Linked DNA regions of Homo sapiens: all the other regions are linked to region 2. Evidence: promoter capture Hi-C in 16 types of primary human blood cells and fetal thymus (Javierre and others, 2016). All regions are on one chromosome and are shown on one strand. Each heading gives the region's core, a stretch centred on a gene start or on the middle of the fragment in contact. The rest is flanking DNA. Distances are from core to core; before and after follow the strand shown.

Region 1 (2,802 bases), core at 190-2,689, 720 kb after region 2:
AATATAGCTTAATTCTGTGGAGAGTACTGGGTTGGCATTTGGGAGAATGGGTTCTTTCCTTGGCCATTAACTGACTGTGTGACTGGTGAGTTGCAGAACCCCCTCATGGCTCCTTAAGTTTTCCCATCTATAAAATGAACAGGAGAGGATTTCTAACCATAACTTCTGCCACTGACAGGCTGATTCTAGCAGCCTAGAAATTTGCTTGGTGGTTAAAAAGAGATACAAAAACACCGATTTGGCCTAGTGAATATGTTAATATTACATGTTCCTTCAATAGAAGGTAATTCAAAAATACAGAAATATTTACATGTTACAACTTTAAATTTTAGCACAAAAGCTGGAGATTGCAGACATTTTACAGAATGATACAGTAAATTTATTTTGTTTGAAGGAAATTCTGTAAATATACCGGCTTATATTTTGAAAGGCATTTACAAATTTTAGAACATTTTCCCCAGACTGCAGAAAATGTTTGGTATGCACTCCAGAAAAGTGTATATACCTACTACCAATTTGAGGGTAGGTGGTTTAGAGCTAAGGTTTAATCCTTTATAACTGCTGTGTTGCTGGGTTTTTGGGGGTTTTTTTGTTTGTTTGTTTTGAGATGGAGTCTCACTCTGTTGCCCAGGCTGGAGTGCAGTGGCGCCATCTCAGCTCACTGCAAGCTCCGCCTCTCGGGTTCCCGCCATTCTCCTGCCTCAGCCTCCCGAGTAGCTGGGACTGTAGGCGCCCGCCGCCACGCCTGGCTAATTTTTTAATATTTTTAGTAGGGACGGGGTTTCACCATGGTCTCGATCTCCTGACCTTGTGATCCGCCCACCTCAGCTTCCCAGAGTGCTGGGATTACAGGTATGAGCCACCATGCCCGGCCAGCTAGGTTCTGCTAGAATTTATCCAGAGCTTTGGAGAAACCTGGAATGGTTAGAAAATACTACTCTTAAAAGTAAAGGGGCTGGAGGACCAACAAAACCATTGTATCCCCTTTTGGACTTGGGAAGTAGAACATTAACCACTTGCTAATTATAGCATCTCCCTTAACCAATTCTTATCTACAATTGTGACTTACCCTCAGTGTTGTACAATGTGTATCACACAATGTGCTAGCTTGTTTCTGTGGCTTAAGAGAATTCACCATTTCTATCTACTACCCAATAGGTGAATTAGATAACTCTTCCATTTGTATATTTTATTCTGTAAGAAAAATTCAAATTGCTCTTATTTGTCATACTATTAGCTAATTTATAAGCGCTAGCCCTCATTCAAAGAAGGGTTAAGGATTTATAGAATTCCTATATTCTCTGGAAGCATCAGTAACCTAAAGGCTAGAGCATGGTATGGGCATGTGCATGATGAATATTTTTGATGTATAGTTCATATATTTGTTTCAGTGGTTTGGTGTTAGAACTGCTAGAAGGGAATCTCACTATCTTTTCTTCCTTTTTGAGATAGTCTTGCTCTGTCATCAGGCTGGAGTTCAGTGGCGCAATCTCGACTCACTGCAACGTCCGCCTCCTGGGTTCAAGCAATTCTCCTACCTCAGCCTCCCAAGTAGCTGGGACTACGGGCATGTGCCACTATGCCAAGCTGATTTTTGTAGTTTTAGTGCAGATGGGGTTTCACCATGTTGGCCAGGCTAGTCTTGAACTCTGACCTCAAGTGATCCACCCGCCTCAGCCTCCCAAAGTGCTGGGATTACCGGCGTGAGCCACCGCGCCTGGCGACTTGTGCTAACGTTAAACCAAAATTATGGGGGGTCATTGTTTGTGGACTGAGTTTCTGCACTAGGTCCTAGCAGACCAAAGTAGTTACATATATTAAGTGCCACACAGTTACATGGAAACTTTACAGACCAGTTTTTCCTGAAAACAGAAAATCCCAGTCTGTCTGAATCAGAATAATAAGGAAGTCCCTTCTTCTTTAACCCTTAAAAAAAAAGTAACCCGATGTTAACCAATCAGTTATTTTTCATTGTTTTGTTTCCTTGCTCTCATCTTACAAAACCCACTATTCTGCTGTTTCTCATTGGGAGCTTTCATTCTGTTTTGTAGAATGGAGGCTGCCCCATTCATAAGTTATGAATAAACGCCAGTTAGATCTGTAAGTAAATTTGTTGTAATTTTTTTCTGACACTAGGAATTGCCAAATGACCCTTCACACGGGAAGTACTAGTTTTTGTTTTTACCAGTCCCAGTCCCCTATGCCTTTTTAAAAAAGAGATGAAGTCTCACTGTTACCCAGGTAATTGCATTGGCTATTTACAGCCACGATCATAGGAAACGCAGCTTCAAACTACTGGCTCAGGGGATCTTCCTGCCTCAGCCTCTCGAGTATCCTGTATCTTGCTAACAGAGCATGTTGACAAACTTGGATTTGTGCCCATCAAATAAGTTTGAACTGTAATTATATACTTTTTTTTAGGCCTTCAGCTTTGCAAAACCTCTGCTTTTGAAATACTTTTTTTTTTTTGAGACGCAGTCTCACTCTCTTGCCCAGAATGGAGTGTGGTGGCGCTATCTCAGCTCACTGCAACCTCTGCCTCCTGGATTCAAGTGATTCTCGTGCCTCAGCCTCCTGAGTATCTGGGATTACAGACGCCCACCACCACGCCCGGGTAGTTGTATTTTTAGTAGAGATGGGGTTTCATCATTTTGGCCAGGTTGGTCTTGAACTCCGGACCTTAAGTGATCTGCCTGCCTTGGCCTCCCAAAGTTCTGGGATTACAGGTGTGAGCCACCACGCCCAGCCGGGTGCTAGTTTTAAAAGTTTCAGAGTTGAAAAGTATTAATAGGTCTCACTATG
Region 2 (2,906 bases), core at 91-2,590:
TTGGTCAGGATTAACCCAAAGGAAAGAAAAATGGAATGGGAAAAGGATAGTGTCTGCTAAGTAAACAAGAAGGAGCACTAGTTTAGGAGTCAGAAGACCTGACCTTTAGACCCATAAGTTGTTTCGACAACACATCAATATGCAAAATACCGGGCAGACAGATTGAAGTAACAGTTATTTCTTTCTTTCTTTTTTTTTTTCGAGACGGAGTCTCGCCCTGTCGCCCAGGCTGGAGTGCAGTGGCAAGATCTCGGCTCACTGCAACCTCCGCCTCCCGGGTTCCAGCAATTCTCCTGCCTCAGCCTCCCGAGTAGCTGGGATTACAGGCGCCCGCCACCACGCCCGGCTAATTTTTGTATTTTTAGTAGAGACGGGGTTTCGCCATGTTGGCCAGGCTGGTCTCGAACTCCTGACCTCGTGATCCGCGCGCTTCGGCCTCCCAAAGTGCTGGGATTACAGGCATGTGAGCCACCGCGCCCGGCCAGTAAGTTATTTATATATCCCGGCACCTAACACATACAGGCGCTAAGCAAGACAGATAAATAATAGCAATAAAACAACTACAGTTTGCTTAGCCCTTCCTAAGTGCTAAAGTGCTAAGAATAGCAGGATAAACAATTCAAGCCCTTGTCCTCAAGCAGAGTGTACTCGAGGAGACTACAGATAAGTATACAACAACCCTGGTGAAGATACTGAGACCCAGGATCCTAATTTATTCCGTTAATAAGAGAGGAAATGGTGATTTAAACCATAATTTGATTGCCTTAAAATTATGAGATCCTCATTAAGAGAACAGGTTGGAGGGAGAAAGAAATAGGGGGTAAAGAAGTAACAATAACCCTCAAACCAAACTCCCTAATGGTCAATTAAATGGAGTCTTCCGGTGAGGCACGGAGAAGGAACTCCTCATACGGGAACAGCAGGTGCTCGATTTGGGGTGTGGTTATAACCTTTACTTCCCTTCCTACTAGTGCCTTGCTTTGCCTACTCCAACCCCGTCCAGGAACCGAGCAGCCCCCACCCGCCTCGGAGGAATCGATGGAGCACCTTTGAGTGCGCGAGTTGCCGCTCTCCGGGTACGGGGCCCGGAGCGTTAGCCTCCCGCGAGTATCGGTGAGCGGCTGCCGAACTGCCATGGGCGCCAGGCCGCTGGGGCGTGCCGCAGCCGCAAGAACCCGCAAGGGACCCCGCGCCCGCACCGGTCCCGGCCTCCTGGCTCCCTGCCGCTCCACACAGCAGCGAGAGCAGCAGCAGCAAGAGGACGAGACCCAGCTCAGGGCAACGTCCACACACCAGCCCTAGTGCGGGCGCAGCCATGTTGTCCCGCGGGCCATGTGACCCGGTTGGTCACGTGGCTGAGCCCTCCTTAAAGGGGCAGAATTTTGAGCTGACTTACGAAGTGACCAGGAGAGTTGCTCTTCACCTTTCTTCAGGTACTTCTTTGGCGCTGCTGCTTGCCTGTGCTAACGTCAAAACGCAGCAAAACACAAAACTCCACAAAACTCAAGGCCTTCCACAGACCGTGCACCCCTTTATGATTTCTTGGTTGAAAAATAACAGTCAAATTTGCTGGGCATTTGGTAAGTGCCAGAGTACTATGCTAAGCACTTCACTTTTTAAAATCTCATTTAATCCTCACAAAGACCCAGTAATGGCGCGCTTGTAGTCCCAGCTAGTCGGGAGGCCAAGGCAGGAGAATCGTTTGAACCTGGGAGGCGGAGGTTTCAGTGAGCCCAGATCCCGCCACTGCACTCCAGCCTCGGCGACAGAGCAAGACTCCGTCTCAAAAAAAAAAGAGAAATACAATACGGAATCAGAATCCGTGGGGACTGGACACAGCAATCCAGGGTTTCACAAGCTCTCCAGATGATTCTAATCCACACTTAAGTTTAAGAACCACTGTTCTACAGTTCCGTAATCGAACAAAATGCAAAACCAAAACAAAAAGAAGATGAAGGAGAAACTTACAGATTAAAAAACAACATAGCAGGCCGGGCGCGGTGGCTCAAGCCTGTAATCCCAGCACTTTGGGAGGCCGAGGCGGGTGGATCACGAGGTCAGGAGATCGAGACCATCCTGGCTAACACGGTGAAACCCCATCTCTACTAAAAAATACAAAAAATTAGCCCGGCGTGGTGGCACGCGCCTGTAGTCCCAGCTACTCGGGAGGCTGAGGCAGGAGAATGGCATGAATCCGGGAGGTGGAGCTTGCAGTGAGCCGAGATGGCGCCACCGCACTCCAGCCTGGGGACAGAGCAAGACTCCATCTGAAAAAAAAAAAAAAAAAAAAAACATAGCAGCCAGCTGCAATATGTGAACCTTATCTAAATACTAATTCAAACCTACTGAGTTCAAAATTTTTGAGATAATCAGGGAAATTTAACCACTAAGTCAAATTATAATATTTGATAAAATTAAGGAATTGCTGTAAATTTTGTTTTTAGGCTTTTAGGAGTAATAATGGTATTTGTGGCTATATTTTTTAAAAGAATCCCCTCACTGAGGTACACACACACTCACTGAGGTATACACACACACACACACACACACACACATATATATATATGGATAAAAATATAGGCAGTCAAAGATTTGCTTCCCAAAAAATGGGTAATCAGGGTCTGGCTAAAGATGAAGCATGATTGGCCATGAGTTGATAACTGTCATAGCTGGTTGATGGGCATCTGGGTGTTTATTGCACTATTCTAATGTAGCATCTGTTTGAATTTTTTTAGCATAAAGAAAAGACCAGCCAGGCACCGTGTCTCAAGCCTGTAATCCCAGCACTTTAGGAGGCCGAGGCAGGAGAATCGCTAGAGGCCAGGAGCTTGAGACCAGCCTGGGCAACACAGCAAGACCTTGTCTCTACAAAAAATTAAGAAAATTAACTGGCCATGGTGACGCAC
Region 3 (2,864 bases), core at 42-2,541, 530 kb after region 2:
CAGGGTTGCAATGAGTAATTTTATACACAGGTCATTTTGCAAGCGTATAACAGTATTTATGGGGTAAACTCCCACATGGAATTGCTGGGTCAATGTCATGAGCATCTGTCATTCTGATGGGTATCATTCCGTGGGACACAGGTCATACTCCTTTAGAACCCAACGTTGTTGCCTGTCTTGGAGGCATTTGCAAGAGATGTCGGAAAGCTTAGAATATGTATATCTTGAGACCAAATGATTCCACTTCTAGGAGTTATCCTAAATACGATTTTTAAAATTAATTAATTTTTAAATAAAAAATAGAGACAGGGTTTTGCTATGTTGACCAGGCTGGTCTCCAGCTCCTGACCTCAAGCAATCCTCTTGTCTTGGCCTCCCAAAGTGCTGGGATTATAGGCCCGAGCCACCATGCACAGCCAAGAAGTTATTAAACAGGTTTTCAAAGACTAAGCTACAAGATTGGACGTCCTGTGCCATTCATAGGTAAAACAAACAAGGAGGAAAGAAGGGAGGGACAGAGGGAAGGAGAGAATAAGGAAATCAGAAAGATGGCTGAGAAGGAGACTGGTTGAGTAACTTACAGTATGTGCAAGTGCTGGAATGCTAAATAGTCATGAAAAATTATGTTAGGAAAGTAAATTGATTATTGTTTATTTGTTGTAAAGGGAGGAAAAGTAGGCCACAAAATAGTATGTTCAGACTTATCCCATTTTTGAAAAAGAATAATATGTGTGCTTCTAAATGTTCTCTCTGCCTCACTTTGAACAACTGTAAAATGAGGACAATAGTAATTGGCCTACTGAGTTGTGAGGATTAAATGAGTTTCAATGTCTAAGATGCTTAGAACAGTGTCTAGCACAGAGAAAGCTCCATGTCAGGGTTAGCTAAAATTAGTGTTATTGTTATTATTTTTTAGTAATTGTATTATAGTTACAGAGGAAAAAGGTCTGGCAGGCAATACAATAAAATTTTAACCACCTTAGCAGGATTTAGAATTATTGGTTATTGTTCCTTTAAGAATTTTTGCTTTTCTATATTTTCTTTTTTTTTTATTTTACAATGAACATGGTATTTCTGTAATATAGATCATGAAGTGCAACAGAATAAGTGGAGTGGGGGACAAGAATGGAGTTCAAGGTTGTCATGGACATCTGTATCCAGCAGTCCCAGGGGATGATGTGGAAAGGAGAGGCAGGATGCTTTTTTGGTTTTGCCAGCTCAGCCCTGGGCAGGGCCAGCCCTACACCCTGGGAAGAAGGCAACTCCCTTCAAAGGGTGAGTGGAAGATCTAGAGAAAGCTCTCCCTACCCACATGCACATAGGAGCTTTTAACAAGGACCTTAACAATTAGAGAGATGACAAAAGTTTCAAAACAGGTGCAAAGACACTCAATAGGCTGTGAGGGTCCTGGGATGGGGGCTCTAACTCATTCACTGCAGCGCTCCCAGTGCCTAGCTTGAAACAAAGCTGAAATTCAGTCAGTGTTTCCTGAATGAACAAGTGAATCTAGACTCTGCTGTGTGACCTTGGGAAAGTTCTTTCACCTTCCTGAATCTGTTTCCTTATCCATCAAATGGGGATATTAGTGATCTTGTAGAGATTGCCGTGAGGATGAAAAGAAATCCTTATGTAGAATATACAGCATCTAGCTACAGTCAGGTATGTGGTAGGTGCTCAAGCATTTGCTGATTAAATGAATGAAAGGAGCCTGGGCAACATAGCAAAAACTCTGTCTCTACAAATAAAAATTAAAACATTAGCCAGTCATGGTGATACGGACCTGTAGTCCCAGCTACTCAGGAGGCTAAGGTGGGAGGATCTTAGCCTGCAGTGAGCCATGACCACGCCACTGTACTCCAGCCAAGGTGACAGAGTGAGGCCCCATCTCAAAATAAAACTTTAATTTAATTTAAAAATAAAAGAAAATAAAAAAATAAATGAAAAGAAAGAATGACATTTATAGGAACATATTCACTCTAAAGTGTAAGTAACTGACATAACATTATTTCCTGAAAGATGCTTTGTAGAGGGAAAAGCTGAAAGAGATCTCATACACACACACACACACACACACATATATATACACACACACATATATATATGTCTGTGTGTATGAGATCTCTCTGATATATATATATATATCAGACTGTGTGCTAAGTACTGTACTAGGCACTATGCATACATTATCTGGTGCAATCTCCATTTTTACATTTACAGAAATTGAGACTCAGTGAGATTAAGTGACTCACCCAAGGTCACACAGCAAGCAGATGGCACAGACAGGATTTAACTCAACATATGACTCAAAAGTCCTTGCTGAAAGAGCCCAGGATGTCAAAATGGACAGAGGCATGAGGAGGGAAGAGGGTCAGAGATAAGCTTCCCACTCTGTGCACACTGCTGAATTACCCATTAGGTAGACCTAGTGTGTGCTGAAAACACTGGGAAAGCAGCCCCAGCTTCCTTCCATCTCCCCAAAATTGGAAAATAATTTCTTTTTGATATTTCAAAGAAAAACATGGAGATCATCTTATGATTAAAATCAAGGGCTTATTGGGGTTTCTCTAAATTTATTTTAAGCTTTGTGTTTTCAGTTTGCACTTCGTATGGGGAGGAAGGATCAAAATGCTCATGTCTCAGGACCTTAGGGCTTAATTGCCCTGGGGCTTAGAGCCTCTCTAGACCTTATCCAGCAAGGTGACGCTAGCTCTCCAGAGTCTGAGTGGGAGGCAGCATGGACACCCACCTGGCCCCTGCTTCCCCTGGGGCTCACGTGGCTGTGTGAGGGGTGTTTCTTAGGGCAGTGGCCTCAGCTCCCCTGACCCGTGGCTTCTCACAGTCTGCCTTTCAGACAAGGCGCTCAC

The links. Contacts are between HindIII fragments. The CHiCAGO score rates a contact against its expected background, and 5 or more counts as called.
Region 1: a fragment that was not itself captured here is called in contact with the fragment with the promoter of SUMF1 in region 2 in 1 of 17 cell types (total CD8 T cells); the score reaches 5.1 in total CD8 T cells.
Region 3: a fragment that was not itself captured here is called in contact with the fragment with the promoter of SUMF1 in region 2 in 1 of 17 cell types (neutrophils); the score reaches 6.6 in neutrophils.

What each region holds. Positions count from the first base shown.
Region 1 is chr3:5,182,326-5,185,127 of GRCh38, forward strand. No RefSeq gene overlaps it. Among named protein-coding and RNA genes, the nearest start is that of EDEM1, 4.0 kb to the right of the region's middle. The HindIII fragment of the contact is 4,107 bases long and covers 1-2,802 here.
Region 2 is chr3:4,465,929-4,468,834 of GRCh38, forward strand. SUMF1 (sulfatase modifying factor 1) reads right to left here and starts at 1,341. Exons shown (of 9, transcript NM_182760.4): 1 at 1,048-1,341. The coding sequence starts at 1,317. LOC124909340 (a long non-coding RNA gene) reads left to right here and starts at 896. Exons shown (of 2, transcript XR_007095789.1): 1 at 896-1,580; 2 at 2,736-2,906. RefSeq lists a silencer at 1,038-1,217 and an enhancer at 1,388-1,567. The HindIII fragment of the contact is 8,038 bases long and covers 1-2,906 here.
Region 3 is chr3:4,992,227-4,995,090 of GRCh38, forward strand. No RefSeq gene overlaps it. Among named protein-coding and RNA genes, the nearest start is that of BHLHE40-AS1, 14 kb to the left of the region's middle. RefSeq lists enhancers at 2,345-2,864, 2,805-2,864. The HindIII fragment of the contact is 2,172 bases long and covers 206-2,377 here.